Regions from separate parts of the Homo sapiens genome. Here all the other regions are linked to region 3. Evidence: promoter capture Hi-C in human tissues and cell types (Jung and others, 2019). All regions are on one chromosome and are shown on one strand. The core of a region is centred on a gene start or on the middle of the fragment in contact, and the rest is flanking DNA. Distances in the headings are between cores, read along the strand shown.

What was found. Contacts are between HindIII fragments. The study calls those that stand out against the background at their distance.
Region 1: the fragment with the promoter of IL25 here is called in contact with a fragment that was not itself captured in region 3 in 1 of the 25 tissues and cell types used here (lymphoblastoid cells).
Region 2: a contact is called between the fragment with the promoter of OR6J1 here and a fragment that was not itself captured in region 3, in 1 of the 25 tissues and cell types used here (spleen).

What each region holds. Positions count from the first base shown.
Region 1 is chr14:23,371,027-23,375,819 of GRCh38, reverse strand. IL25 (interleukin 25) reads right to left here and starts at 3,011. Exons shown (of 3, transcript NM_172314.2): 1 at 2,845-3,011; 2 at 2,424-2,644; 3 at 1-195. The coding sequence starts at 2,853. The HindIII fragment of the contact is 4,168 bases long and covers 1-3,763 here.
Region 2 is chr14:22,641,623-22,645,972 of GRCh38, reverse strand. It overlaps OR6J1 (olfactory receptor family 6 subfamily J member 1), which reads left to right and starts at 1,621. Exons shown (of 2, transcript NM_001348233.2): 1 at 1,621-1,875. The HindIII fragment of the contact is 14,040 bases long and covers 966-4,350 here.
Region 3 is chr14:22,948,511-22,953,029 of GRCh38, reverse strand. HAUS4 (HAUS augmin like complex subunit 4) reads left to right here. Exons shown (of 10, transcript NM_001166269.2): 3 at 347-489; 4 at 571-702; 5 at 1,341-1,475; 6 at 2,620-2,716. The region is part of intron 2 of PRMT5-DT (PRMT5 divergent transcript); the gene reads right to left. Among named protein-coding and RNA genes, the nearest start is that of MIR4707, 6.3 kb to the left of the region's middle. The HindIII fragment of the contact is 5,650 bases long and covers 1-4,519 here.

The DNA of each region.
Region 1 (4,793 bases), core at 1,762-4,261, 420 kb before region 3:
TCCAGGCAGTAGCCCTTGTGGGTGCCCTTCTCGCCATGGCATGGCCGCCGGTAGAAGACAGTCTGGTTGTGGTAGAGCAGCTCCGAGTTGCCCCGGGGGTCCATGTGGGAGCCTGTCTGTAGGCTGACGCAGTGCGGGCACAGGCAACGGGCGTGGTACAGGTCCTGGGGGAGCCGGTTCAAGTCTCTGTCCAACCTGTGGGGGCGGCACTTGTCAGGCCTTGGAAAGATGGGCCGGAAACAGAGAGGGTGGGGTGGCATGGGAGTGCCAGAAGAAGGAAATGGTCCGTCTGGGGCCTTGGCCTCTTGTCTCAGTTCTGAACCCACTTGCTGTGTAACTTTGAACAAGTCACCTCCCTCCTTTATTAAATTTTCCCCACTGTAAATGAGGGTAGCAGGTGACAGAGTGCTTTCCAACTGGTCCTGGGACCGTGAGGGAGGCAGGGGAGGGTGAGCAGGCTCCTGCCTTAGCCTCCATTGACCAGCACTGCTTCTATCTGACTCAGCATGAGGTTTCTTATTGTAATGATTACACTTTAGGTGTTTTTGTTTGTTTTTTGATTTTTTGTTTTTGTTTTTTTGAGACGGAGTACCCAAGCTGGAGTGCAGTGGCACGATCTTGGCTCAACTGCAACCTCTACCTCCTGGGTTCGAGCGATTCTCCTGATGCCCGCCACCATACCCAGCTAATTTTCATATTTTTAGTAGAGATGGGGTTTCATGATGTTGGCCATGGTTGGCCAGGCTGGTCTTGAACTCCTGACCTTAGGTAATCCACCCACCTCGACCTCCCAAAGTGCTGGGATTACAGGCATGAGCCACCGGGCCGGACTTTAGGTGGTGTTTCTATTATTATTATAGCATTATTGCAAAAGTAAAAACCACTCTGACATCCAAGTATTAAAGAGTATAAAGAGTGAAAGTTAATAGTCTCTCCCTACCAGCCCCACTCCCCAGAAGAAGCTATCCTCAACTATTTCCTGCACATTCTTCCAGACGCTGTGCAAGCTTATATTATAAGCATACTTGAGAGTGCATGGGAAGACTTATTTACTTATTCTGAAAGGATTTCATGGCAAAAAAAAAAAAAGAAAGAAAGAAAGAAAGATGAAAAACACTGAAAAGTAGATGTCCCACAGGTCTGCGACTCCATTAGTCTGGCAGGCGACAGTCTCCAGCTTGTGGGACCATTCCCCACACAGACAAGCCCTGGCAAATGGAATTAGCTAGCACATCACTTCCCAAAGTGGGTTCCCTAATAAATCACCTGCACCTGTTGGGTGCTTAAATGAATTTGGGAAACACCAGTTTAACGGTTTACTTTCTACAGACTTCTTGCAGACTTTAATGTACAATGACAGTATGAATCTCCAAGGGGTAGGAGATACAGCAGTCTTTCCCAAGTTTACCTGGCATCACTTTTTTCTGAGAAGCAGCTCATGGGATGAGCATTGCACAGAACACACTTTGGGGAAAGCCACCTGAGTGGTTCTCGGGTTCACAGACTCCCAGCAAGGGGTCTGGAAGACAGCTGAGTTAACCTCTGGCACCCGCCTCCCCTAAGAAGCTCCCATGCCATCTGATTTGGCCCAGGACCCAGCCAGCTTCTGAGACCACTCCAAAGAGTCATGACCTGTAGTGTCCACACTAGATCCAATCTCAGTTAGATCTGACCCCCTCCCCACCACTGAACTTCTCCATCTACCCCCAAAGCCAATGCTAAGACAGAACTAGAAGGAAGAAGTGAAATCACATGTCTGGAATCCCTAAGACCCTAGTTTTTAATATTTTGCTTCATCATTCATATTTCAGCACTTCCTAATATTTTTCATATCATGGCACAAATAGAGAACTATAATATTTATGTGGCACACTGAGTGAAAGAATACAGTACCCATGATCATGATCAAAGATATCCAGTCCACAGCTCCAGCCAGCCAGCTGCCCCCAAAAGTTAAGGGTTTCACTCCTTTAGTATGCTTATAACTAACCCATTCATGGCCAGGGCAGTATCAATTGGTATTGGGATGCTTCATGCCTGTATCATGCCATTATTCCCTAATATTTTACCCAGAAAAAACATGGGCCATTATAGGGATGTTTTAAAAGAAAAGGAGAGAACCAACATAAATACAGACTTTTACATACATTATATTTCATTTGATCTGCACATTAGCCTATGGGGCATTATATCATTTTGCAGGTGAAAAAAAAAAAAACCCTGAGTTTTGAAAACTTGAATTGACTCAAGATCATCCAATGAGAGTCAGAGCTAGGACTCAAATACAGACCTTGTCTAACTCCCAAACCTTTACAGCCCCTCTGAGATCAAAATGGGAAAGTAAGCTGGAATTGCCCTGGTCCCTCACGCATACCCTGGCCAGCACACACAGGGCAGGCATTCGGGAGGGGCAGCAGACTCACTCATATCTCCAGGGGGAGATGGCCCTGCTGTTGAGGGGTCCATCTTCACTGGCCCTACAGGACTCTGGGTGGCGGTTGGGCCTAGCAGGCTCTAGGGGAGGCACAGGCACAGTGCTCCACCTCAGCAGCTCCTCAGAGGTGTCCTGCCCTTTGCTGGGGCAGCAGCTGGGCCAGTGGCTGTAGGTGTGGGTTCCCATGACCATTGCCAAGAATGCAACCACCTGTAGGAAAAGGCTAATGAGAGAACTGTCCTCACCTAATCTGGGTCGCTCCCTCATCTGCACCCTCCCCCTGGGATCCCAGTTTCTCACTCCACTTGGCCCCCAGCCCCAAACCTGGCAGCTTGGCCTCCCTCCACCCTCAGCAGCATCTCTGCTCCTCTCCCTCTCAGCACAGCCCTCAGGCAGCCCTCTGCACTGACCTGGTACATGCTGGGCACTGCACACTCAGTCACAAGTGGGGCACTGACTGACAGGCCTCGTGGAAGCAGGCTGACTGGAGCAGGTTAGGAGTCCTGATTTTATTTTCAGCAAGCCTGTTTTGTTTATTCAAATTTATTTCCACTGTCTTTTTAGGGAGTGACTTGAGGTTAAAAAACAAAACCAAAAAAACTCTGAAAGTATTTCCAAAGGCTGCTTAAAATGCAATACTCATGGAAGTTGTGATGACCATCATTATATGCCTGGTAGCTGATTGGGTAAACTTTGCTCTTTGAATTTTTCTGGCCATGGGGTCAAAGCAATAACAGTCTGCTGTTCTGCATTCTTGTGAACTGGCATTAGCGGGATTTCCCTGGTTGGTTTGGTAGCCAAAATTAGGAAATGTCTTGTGGCCTCCCTTCAAGAGGCCTCGTTTCCATGATCCCTGCTCCCCCCATCCAGGGTCTGGTTTCACCATTCCCCTCTTCCCAGGTGTCCCTCTGATCATCCACCTTCGTGATTATTTCCTTTCCCTTAGACATCCTTTGACTCCCATCCCCTTTGTTCTCTGACCTCTTCCACATTTTCAATGACCCCAAAATTCTATGACCCCCATCAGCTATGACTTCTCCCCCATTGTCCATGACCCACTCCCTAACTCCCCCTTGCCCTCGCCAGTCACTGCCCCCCACCGGGGATACAAGCCTACCCTCACAGGGCTGCTGGAAGACCCTGACTTCCTAAGTTTGTTGGCTGGATGGGCAAGGTCTGATGGAAGAAGCTGTGGGTGAGTGTCCCCATTGCACAAATGAGAAGGTGAAGCAAGGAAGAGGAGGGAAACTGAAACAGCCTCACCTAAGACCCAACAGGAAGGAGGTCTCAGTTCCAGGAACCAACCTGCTCTCATTCACAGAGCCTTGGGGACCAAGCCCATGACAGGGTCAGCTACTGCTTTCAGGCCATGAAGTGAGCCCACTCAGCCTCAGCAGGTCCAGAAACATGGGCCACTGTTAGCCAGGAGGGTGTATGTGTGCCCCAGAAAGGCTTACAGTTGGGCTTGACCCCAAAGACACAGGTCAGCCGGGTCCAGCCTGCTTGGGAGACACTGTGCTGAGAGTGGGCCAGTGTGTCCTTCCCCCCAGGTCCTTCTCTTCATGCTTGCCTATTGGCCTGCCTCATCCCCCATACGCACCCAACATACCCATACACAGACATTGCCCCTAGAATGATGTGGCTTGATTTGCATGTGCTTTCCCTTAGAAAATACTCCTCTAGTAACCAAGGACTAGGAAATCAACAAAGGGAACCAGGAATAACTTAAACTGCAGTGAGAGGAATCTTTCCAATGCGTTAGGGCAAAGCAGCCCCAAAAGAGAGAAGTGATGAAGTCAAAGGGCAATCTGGAAAATTGGGAGAAACTGCTCTGCTCTGATGAGTCTTGGGGCACCTGGAACTGTGGGATGGAGGGCACTTAGAAGAAGCAGGTGGTGGCTGGGAAAGCAGGGGCACTCAGGAACAGTGATGAGGCCAGTATCATGGCCCCACTCTCACTGCCTCACCCTCTGCCCCCAGTACTCGCAGACGTCCTCTCCCTTCCATATCCTGCTGGCCTCAGCTCCTGTGCACTTACATGTGCCAGGCATGGTGCTAAGCCCTGGGCATGCATCATCTCATTTTATCCCGACAATGAAACCATGACATGGAAACTATTATCCCCATGTTACAGATGAGGAAACTGAGGCCCAAGGAAATTTAGTAACTTACCCAAGATCACAAAGAAAGAGGCTGAGCTGGTTTCCCATTCCAGCTCTGACCAATTCCACATGTAACCTCCTGGCATGGAAGTGCCACACCGTGCCTACCCCTAGTTGGCTGTGAATGGAAGGGGAGCCCCACAGTGAATGCTTTCCTGCTCACCTGGGCTTGGGTTGGGACAAGTTTCAACTGCACC
Region 2 (4,350 bases), core at 372-2,871, 310 kb after region 3:
GAGGAGGGTCCTGGGTAAATGGAGTGGTAGGGATGGATGGAACTGTCACAGTGGGGCTGGAGAGGGGGTGGATGGAGGACTGTATGCTGTGAGGCTCTCTGAGATAGGCCTGGGGGTGTTGATCTTGGCTAGTGTTCTGTTCCCAGTTCTTGTTAGTGTAGATGTTTAGGTTTGCATCCTTTCCTAAGTGGGCCTCAGGGGCATCAGACTCAGGCTTGGTGTTCAGGGACAGCTTCGTAATGTGCCCCTGAGGAGTGCCCCATGTTTGGAGGTTTCTCAGAAAGTGCATGCTCTCACCTGAGCCAATCCCACCCCAACCCTCCCAAGTGGGGTCCAAACATGGGACCCTTCTAGAGTATGCCCCCTTCAGCCCTGACAGTGCAGAGTCTGTTTGCAGCAACGCAAGCCTCAGCGCCCAGCACGGAAGCCTGGGGCAGCTGTGTGGGCAGGATATGCTGGGGGCCAGCCCCCTCTACCTTATTTAGGCAAATGTGAGTATTTCTGAGTCCTCCCGCTGAATCCCTTCCAGCTTACTGACTCCTCTGTAGAGTGCAGATGGTGGAGGACAGGAAGTAGTTTCTTCATTTCCAGGAATCCTGGGCAACCGAAATTCCCATGTAGAGAAGCATCTTCCCTTTGTCTTCACACTTTGTAGCCAACCAGATATGCTGTCCAAGGGGAGAATAGTTGATTAAGGCAGAAGCATGGGCCTGATGAGATGTATTCCAGAGCCAGAAGGGACAGTATTCTTCCCTCTAGGGTGGGATGATCAATATCTCAGTAGGGACAAGGAAGATAAGGTTTGTTCTTTTCCAGTATTGCAGAATAGGAGGGGTTCTAGAAAATAAAGCAATATGGTGTTTTATGATTTCACACATCATATGAATTATCATACATTTGTTCTTCACGATCCTTGGCAATGATCGATTATCATATGAGTTATCTTATTTTCCGTTTTGTGCTTCTCAACCTCATGAGGAAGAGGAGGAAAAGAGCATTACCGCTGTTTGTCACATGAGGATTCATTTGCAGATAGTATGAAAATGGAGGCAATTTTTCCAGTCTCAAGAATGGTAAAAGGCACAGGTGGGACTTGAACCCAGACTCTTGGCTTCAAGTCCAGAGTTTTCTCATGCACCAGCTACCCCTCAACAGGATTTGACTATCCTGCAGTAACCCTAGAGGAAGTTTAGTCCTTGGGACGCTTGGCCTGCCAGTCTCTGAAAAAAATATGATGGGGATGGTGGTGGTGGTAGTGCACGTTGGGTTGAGGGGACAGAGGAAGAAGCAGGTTGATGGCTGTTGTCCATCAGGTAACACAGTGTTTCTTTTCCCATTTTCTCTGGAATCAAGAAGCACCCAGAAGACTGGGCTGAGCAGAAGACTGGAGAGGGTGCAGGAAAGATGGTAGCAGGAGAGGAGAATAAAGCACCATCCAGGAGCTTAGTGGAGAGTGCCCCTTTTCTCTCCCCAACTGGATCAGATTGTGTAGACAGTGTGGGAGGTGCAGCTGGTCAATGCTTAACCGAAGGTGATTTCCTCACACACTCAGGATTAGGGCAAGAGGATTTGTAGACCTCTCTATGCTGGAATGGATGTCATACCTTGTAACTTCCTCAGCAGTGTAAAAATCCAACATGTACCTTCCAGCTGTCTACAACACAAGTGCATGCTCGTCGGACAAGAGGTCACAGCTAAGGCAACAATCCACATGAGTTGGGAAGGGCTCATTTCACCTGTCAAACACTGCTGCTCTCATGTGGAATGCACTGTGGCTTTTTGGTCAAGATAATTACCGTGGAAGATCCTAGGTGGCAGCAAATCCCAGGTGAACAGACTGAGCCGTGGAGGTGGCATAAGGCAACCCTAGCCGAGGTGAGTGCAGACCAATCGTTTGGCATTTGGGGGCTGGCTGGGAGCAGCTGTTCCTGTTATAATCTCAGGTGTGTATCTTTGCCTTCATTAAGCTTCTTAATATTTCTGATGTGAGGAAATGATTTTCCAGTGGGTGCAGTTGCACCTTATGCAAAGATGTATTTTGAGAGTTAAATGAATTAAGTCTTGATCCCTCATCCTACCATTTCCAGATTTGGTGACCAAGTCCAAATTCATCCTCCATACTATTCTTCTAGATTTTACAGACTGTGCATATATCTACATTTAGTAACTGCTGTCTCTCTCTCTCTCTCTCTCTCTCTCTCTCTCTCTGTGTGTGTGTGTGTGTGTGTGTGTGTGTGTGTGTGTGTGTGTGTGTGTGTTTCTGCCATGCCAGGGGTCAGGGCTTCTTCTTGGGGCTGTGGCCTTTTCTCCTGCTACATTGGTTCTTTAAGATCCTTGGCAATGATCCATGCTATAACATAGATGAACCTTTACAAATATTATAGTAAGTGGCCTGCACCTGTAATCTCAGCACTTTGGGATGCTAAGACAGGAAGATCGCTTGAGCCCAGGAGTTCGAGACCAGCCTGGGCAATATGGCAAAACCCCTATCACTACAAAAAATACAAAAATTGGCCGGGCATGGTGGTGTGTGCCTGTAGTCCCAGTTACTTGGGAGTCTGAGGTGGGAGGATCACTTGAGCCTGGGAGGTCGAGGATGTAGTGAGTTATGATTGCACCACTGCACTCCAGCCTGGGTGACAGAGTGAGACCCTGTCTCAAAAAATAAAAAAAGTAAAATTATTTTCTAATTAAAAAAAAAATTAGGCTAGGCACGGTGGCTCACGCCTGTAATCCCAGCACTTTGGGAGGCCGAGGTGGATGGATCACTTGAAGTCAGGAGTTCGAGACCAGCCTGGCCAACATGGGGAAACCCTGTCTCTACTAAAAATACAAAAATCTGCTGGGCGTGGTGGCAGACGCCTGTAATCCCAGCTACTTGGGAGGCTGAGGCTGGAGAATCGCTTGAACCGGGGAGGCGGAGGTTGCAGTGACCAGAGATTGCACCATTGCACTCCAGCCTGGGTGACAAGAGTAAAACTCCATCTCAAAAAAAAAAAAAAATTATCCAGGTGTGATGGTGTGCACCTGTAGTCCTAGCTACTTGGGAGGCTGAGGCAGGAGGATCACTTGAGCCCAGGAGTTTGGGGCTGCAGTGAGCTATCTTCATGCCACTGCACTACAGCCTCACTGACAGAGCAGGACCCTGTCTCTAAAAAAAATTTAAAAATAAAAATAAAGAAAATATTATAGTAAGTGAAAGAAGCTAGATACAAAGGACCACATATGGTATGATTCATTTATATGAAATGTCCAGAATAGGCAAATCCATAGTCAGAAAGTAGAAAAATAGTTTCCAGGGAATGGAGGAGGGATCATTAAAATATCCTTAAATCTGCCAGGCATGGTGGCTTGTCCCTGTAATCCCAGCACTTTGGGAGGTCAAGGCGGGAAGATCATGAGGTCAGGAGTTGGAGACCAGCCTGACCAACACGGTGAAACCTCATCTCTACTACAAATACAAAAATTAGCTGGGCATGGTGGCACACGCCTGTAATCCCAGCTTACTCAGGAGGCTGAGGCAGGAGAATCGCTTGAACCCTGGAGGTGGAGGTTGCAGTGAGCTGAGCTCGTGCCACTGCACTCCAGCCTGGGTGACAGAGCGAGACTCCATCTCAAATATATATATATATATATATATATATATATATATATATATATTCTTAAGTTGATTGTGGTGATGGACACACAGTTTTGTGAATACACTAAAAGCTATTGAATTGTATATTTTAAATGGGTGGAATGTATGGTACTTGAGTTATATATCAATAAAGCTGTTAAGAAAGAAAAGATCCTTGGCAATGCAAATGTGGTGAGTTGTCTGGAGAGACTGTCCATGTGCCAAGGCTATAGGAAGGTAGGGCAGGTCGTGAGGACAGGTTCTGTGCAGGAGTGGCTGATGTTCTGACTCAGCTTAGATGGGCAGAGGTCAACTCAGTCCTCGGGATTTCTGCAGTCCTCTTCCTTTACTAGATTATTCTTGTTTTTCCTAGTCCAATCCATATTCTTCTTAGTCACTGGTAATTACGTGGCCTCTGCTATCCAGAGTCCTTCCTAGGTATAGAAGCCCTATTTGACCTTGTCCCTGGAATCTATCAGTTTTCCTGGTAGTTGGTTTGCTTTCCAGACTAATGGCCCAGGACAAATATCCATGAAAAAACTTTGCCGTCCCTTAATTTTTCCTCTGTTTCTGTGATTTTTCTGAAATCAGGTTTCTTCACATCTCTTTTAGACTGAAAGCTGTGCGAGGGCATGCAATTTTTTTTACCATCTCTGCAACCTTTCATCAATCGCAGGCCCCACAACATAGTTGGCACTCAATATGTGTTTGCTAATATACATTTTCAATCC
Region 3 (4,519 bases), core at 626-3,125:
CTCTATTAATTTTGGATGAATGAGGCATTTTGTGTATTGTGATTCCTACTAACGGTCCCTTAATTTTTATTCTATTTGTCTAATATGTACCAACTGCATTTCCGTTTCCTAAGATCTTAGTTTATTACTTATTCCCCCTTAATATCCTTGTATATAATATAAATGCTTGTTACCTTGAATATTACCCTTGTTTATTTGTGGATTTTTAAAAAATCTCATTAGATTTAGCAATCTTTCCTATAAAAATCCTAGGGGTTTTTTGGAAGTATTAAGTTATGCTCAGTTATGTAAAGTAAGAGTCCACACCTTTTTTGTTTTTTTGTACCTGTGGGGACATGATGTTAAGTGTGCAGCAAACAACTTCCTCCTTGTAACCTGAGTAAAGAGGACCTGTTACAGAACCCATACTTCAGCAAGCTTCTCCTGAATCTCTCACAGCATGTGGATGAGAGTGGCTTAAGCCTCACCCTAGCAAAGGAGCAGGCTCAGGTAAGGGCTTTGGGAGAAGAGATAAGAAGAAGGGAAAATCCTGAGAGAGAGGTTCCTACCTGAGATTTTTTGGATTTCTAGGCATGGAAGGAAGTTCGACTGCATAAGACAACATGGTTGAGGTCTGAGATTTTACACAGAGTCATTCAAGAGTTGCTTGTGGACTACTATGTGAAGATACAAGACACAAATGTAACTTCTGAGGACAAAAAGGTGAGGCAAAGGCTGGGCGTGGTGGCTAACACCTGTAATCCCAGCACTTTGGGAGCCCCAGGCAGGCTGATCACTTGAGGTCAAGAGTTTGAGACCAGCCTGGCCAACATGGTAAGACCCCGTCTCTACTAAAAATACAAAAATTAACCAGGTGCAGTGGCACACGCCTGTAATCCCAGCTACTCGGGAGGCTGAGGCAGCAGAATCGCTTGAACCTGGGAGGCGGAGATTGCAGTGAGCCGAGATTGCGCCACAGCACTCCAGCCTGGGTGACAGAGCGAAACTCAGTCTCAAAAAAAAGTGAGGTGAAAGAAATGAGGTGGGGTTGGTTACCAGTTACAGGAATGACCAGGCCAACTGTGGCTTTGTCTGATGATGTGATCTAGGGGAAGTAGGAGCTTTGAGAAATGGTTTGTCAAAAGAGAAATGGACTGTAGTTATGGGGAAGGAGTGGATGTGTTATCAGAGTTTGTAATAGAAACATTGACAGAAGTCACTCGCAGCTGAGTTATCTGAGGGGGGATGATATATTTGAGGACTTTGAAAATATGTGAAAAACTGGTTCATAAGGATGGAAGAGGTGGAGTGGGAGAAGTTTTATAGTTGCCTCTTTTTGTTTTTTATTCTCTCTCTCTCAGTTTCATGAGACCCTTGAACAGCGGCTGCTTGTAACTGAACTGATGCGGCTCTTAGGTCCTAGCCAGGAGAGGGAGATACCTCCACTGCTGGGGCTGGAGAAAGCGGACCTTCTGGAACTCATGCCACTCTCAGAGGTTGGCGGGGAGATATTGGAACCAAATAAATGAAATGGTTTAATTTCTCCCATATCTTTAAAATGTTTTTTTTGTCAAGCTTTATTGTTTTTGTAAAAATGATACACATTCAGGGTGGTCAGACTCAAATAAGAAAAACGTTACACAGGAGCAAGTAAAAGCTGAAATACTGCATCTAGAAGCACAATATTATTATAAACAGCTTGACATAAATGGTATTATACCCTTCATGCTTATATAGAGAGTATAAGGCCGAGTGTAGTGACTTCCGCCTATAATCGTAGCACTTTGGGAGGCTGAGGTGGGAGGATCACTTGAGTTCAGGAGTTCAAGACCAGCCTGGGCAACATAGTGAGACCTCGTCTCTACCAAAAAAAAAACAAAACAAAAGCCAGGTTTGGTGGTGCACACCTGTAGTCCCAGCTACTCGGGAGACAGAGGCAGGAGGATGACTTGAGGGTGGGAGGTCAAGGCTGTAGTGAGCTGTGATCATGCCACTGTACTCCAGCCTGGGCACAGAGTGAGACCCTGTCTCAAAAAAAGAAAAGTACAGTCTATTTTCATGTAATATATTTTGGATTTCTTTTCAAGTCAATACATAAATGTAAATAAGATGATAGCTTCTATAGCACTGTTAGCAAAGTATCTAGGCACATAGTGCTTAGTGTTATGTCATCAGTTTAAATCTCTGCTAGGATTCTATTATATGGATGTAGAATAATTTGCTTAACCTTATTGGTGGATATTAAGGTTGTTTCCACATTTTTGCTGTTAGAAACCACAGGGAGATGAACATGCTGGTTCATATGTGTCTTTACCTTTGTATGATTATTTCTGTAATGCTGGTGCTAAAAGTGGGATTCCTGAGTCAGTGCATACTCATACAGAATATTGGTACCTAATGCCAAACTGCTATCCAGAAAGGTATTTTCAGGGCTCCTGGATCCCCCATGTTCTCACCAACATGGGGTCTTGACAGTCATTTTATTCTTCGCTAATTTGATAGGTGAAAAATGAGTCTCTCTGATGTCTCTTGATGCATTTTCTTTGGCTATTATTGAGGTTATCATCATGTATTCATTGGCTGAGACGTCCTAGTTTTTACAGTCTATTCGCATTTCTGCCTTTACTTCTATGACTGTAGGATTTTGTGTGGATGAGGGCTCGGCTACAGCAAGAAGTAGAGGAGCAGCTCAAAAAGAAATGTTTCACTCTGCTCTGCTACTATGATCCCAATTCAGGTGAGTGCTAGCTGTCTGTTCTGCTCACAGCTGGACTTCAGGGTTCCTGGTCTGCTCTTTTGAGAATAATATATTTTGATTTTAGATTTGGGACAGAGGTTTAGAACCATCAGAGATGCTTATTTGTTTTGTTGCTGGTAGAATAAAAACAAGGACTTTTTGTTTTTTTGTTTTTTTTTTTTTTTGAGATGGCGTTTTGCTCCTGTTGCCCAGGCTAGAGTGCAATGGCGCCATTTCTGTTCACCGCAAGCTCCTCCTCCTAGATTCAAGTGATTCTCCTGCCTCAGCCTCCCGAGTAGCTGGGATTACAGGCATGCGCCACCCCGCTCGGCTAATTTTGTATTTTTAGTAGAGATGGGGTTTCTCCATGTTGATTAGGCTGGTCTGGAACTCCCAACCTCAGGTGATCCGCCTGCCTCGGCATCCCAAAGTGCTGGGATTACAGGTGTGAGCCACCACACCCGGCCAAAACAAGGACCTTTGTAAGGACTCTTTTTATTCAGCAAGATACTGAGTGGGAGTGTCCTCCTGCTGCAGGGAAGGATGAGTTCTCTCAGGAGGTTCAGAATGGTTTAGGGAGGAAAGTTCAGACTCATAGAACACCTTATACTCTCTGTATAAGCTTGGAGGGTATAATACCATTTATGTCAAGCTGTTTATAATAATGTGTTTCTAGACGTAGTATTCATATTTCAGCTTTTACTTGCTTCTGTGTAATGATTTTCTTATTTGAGTCTGACCACCCTGAATGAATGTGTATCTCTTTTTTTTTTTTTTTTTTTTTTGAGACGAAGTCTCGCTCTGTCCCCCAGGCTGGAGTGCAGTGGCGCAGTCTCACCTCACTGCAAACTCCACCTCCTAGGTTCACGCCATTCTCCTGCCTCAGCCTCCCGAGTAGCTGGGACTACAGGTGCCCGCCACCACGCCTGGCTAATTTTTTGTATTTTTAGTAGAGACGGGGTTTCACCGTGTTAGCCAGGATGGTCTCAGTCTCCTGACCTCATGATCTACCCACCTTGGCCTCCCAAAGTGCTGGGATTACAGGCGTGAGCCACTGTGCCTGGCCCTGAATGTGTATCATTTTTACGAAAATAATAAAGCTTAACACCTGAGTCTGAACTTTCCTCCCTAAACCATTTCTTTTTTTTTTTTTTTTGAGACGGAGTTTCATTCTTGTCGCCCAGGCTGGAGTGCAATGGCGTGATCTCAGCTCACTGCAACCTTCGCCTCCGAGGTTCAAGCAATTCTCCTGCCTCAGCCTCCCAAGTAGCTGGGATTACAGGCGCCTGCCACCCTGCCCAGCTAATTTTTTTGTATTTTTAGTAGAGACAGGTTTTCACCATGTTGGCCAGGATGGTCTCAAACTCCTGACCTCAGGTGATCTGCCCGCCTTGGCCTCCCAAAGTGCTGGGATTACAGGCATGAGCTACCACACTTGGTCTCCTTAAACCATTTCTATGACTTAAGAATTAAGGTCCGGGCCGGGCGCGGTGGCTTACGCCTGTAATACCATCACTTTGGGAGGCCGAGGCAGGTGGATCATGAGGTCAGGCGTTCGAGACCAACCTGGCCAATATAGTGAAACCCCGTCTCTACTAAAAATACAAAAAATTAGCTGGGTGTAGTGGCGGGTGCCTGTAATCCCAGCTACTTGGGAGGCTGAGGCAGGAGAATTGGTTGAACCTGGGAGGTGGAGGTTGCAGTGAGCTGAGATCGCGCCACTGCACTCCGGCCGAGGTGACAGTGAGAGACTCCGTCTCAAAAAAATAAAAAGAATTAAGGTCCAAATCCGGAATCAAAGGT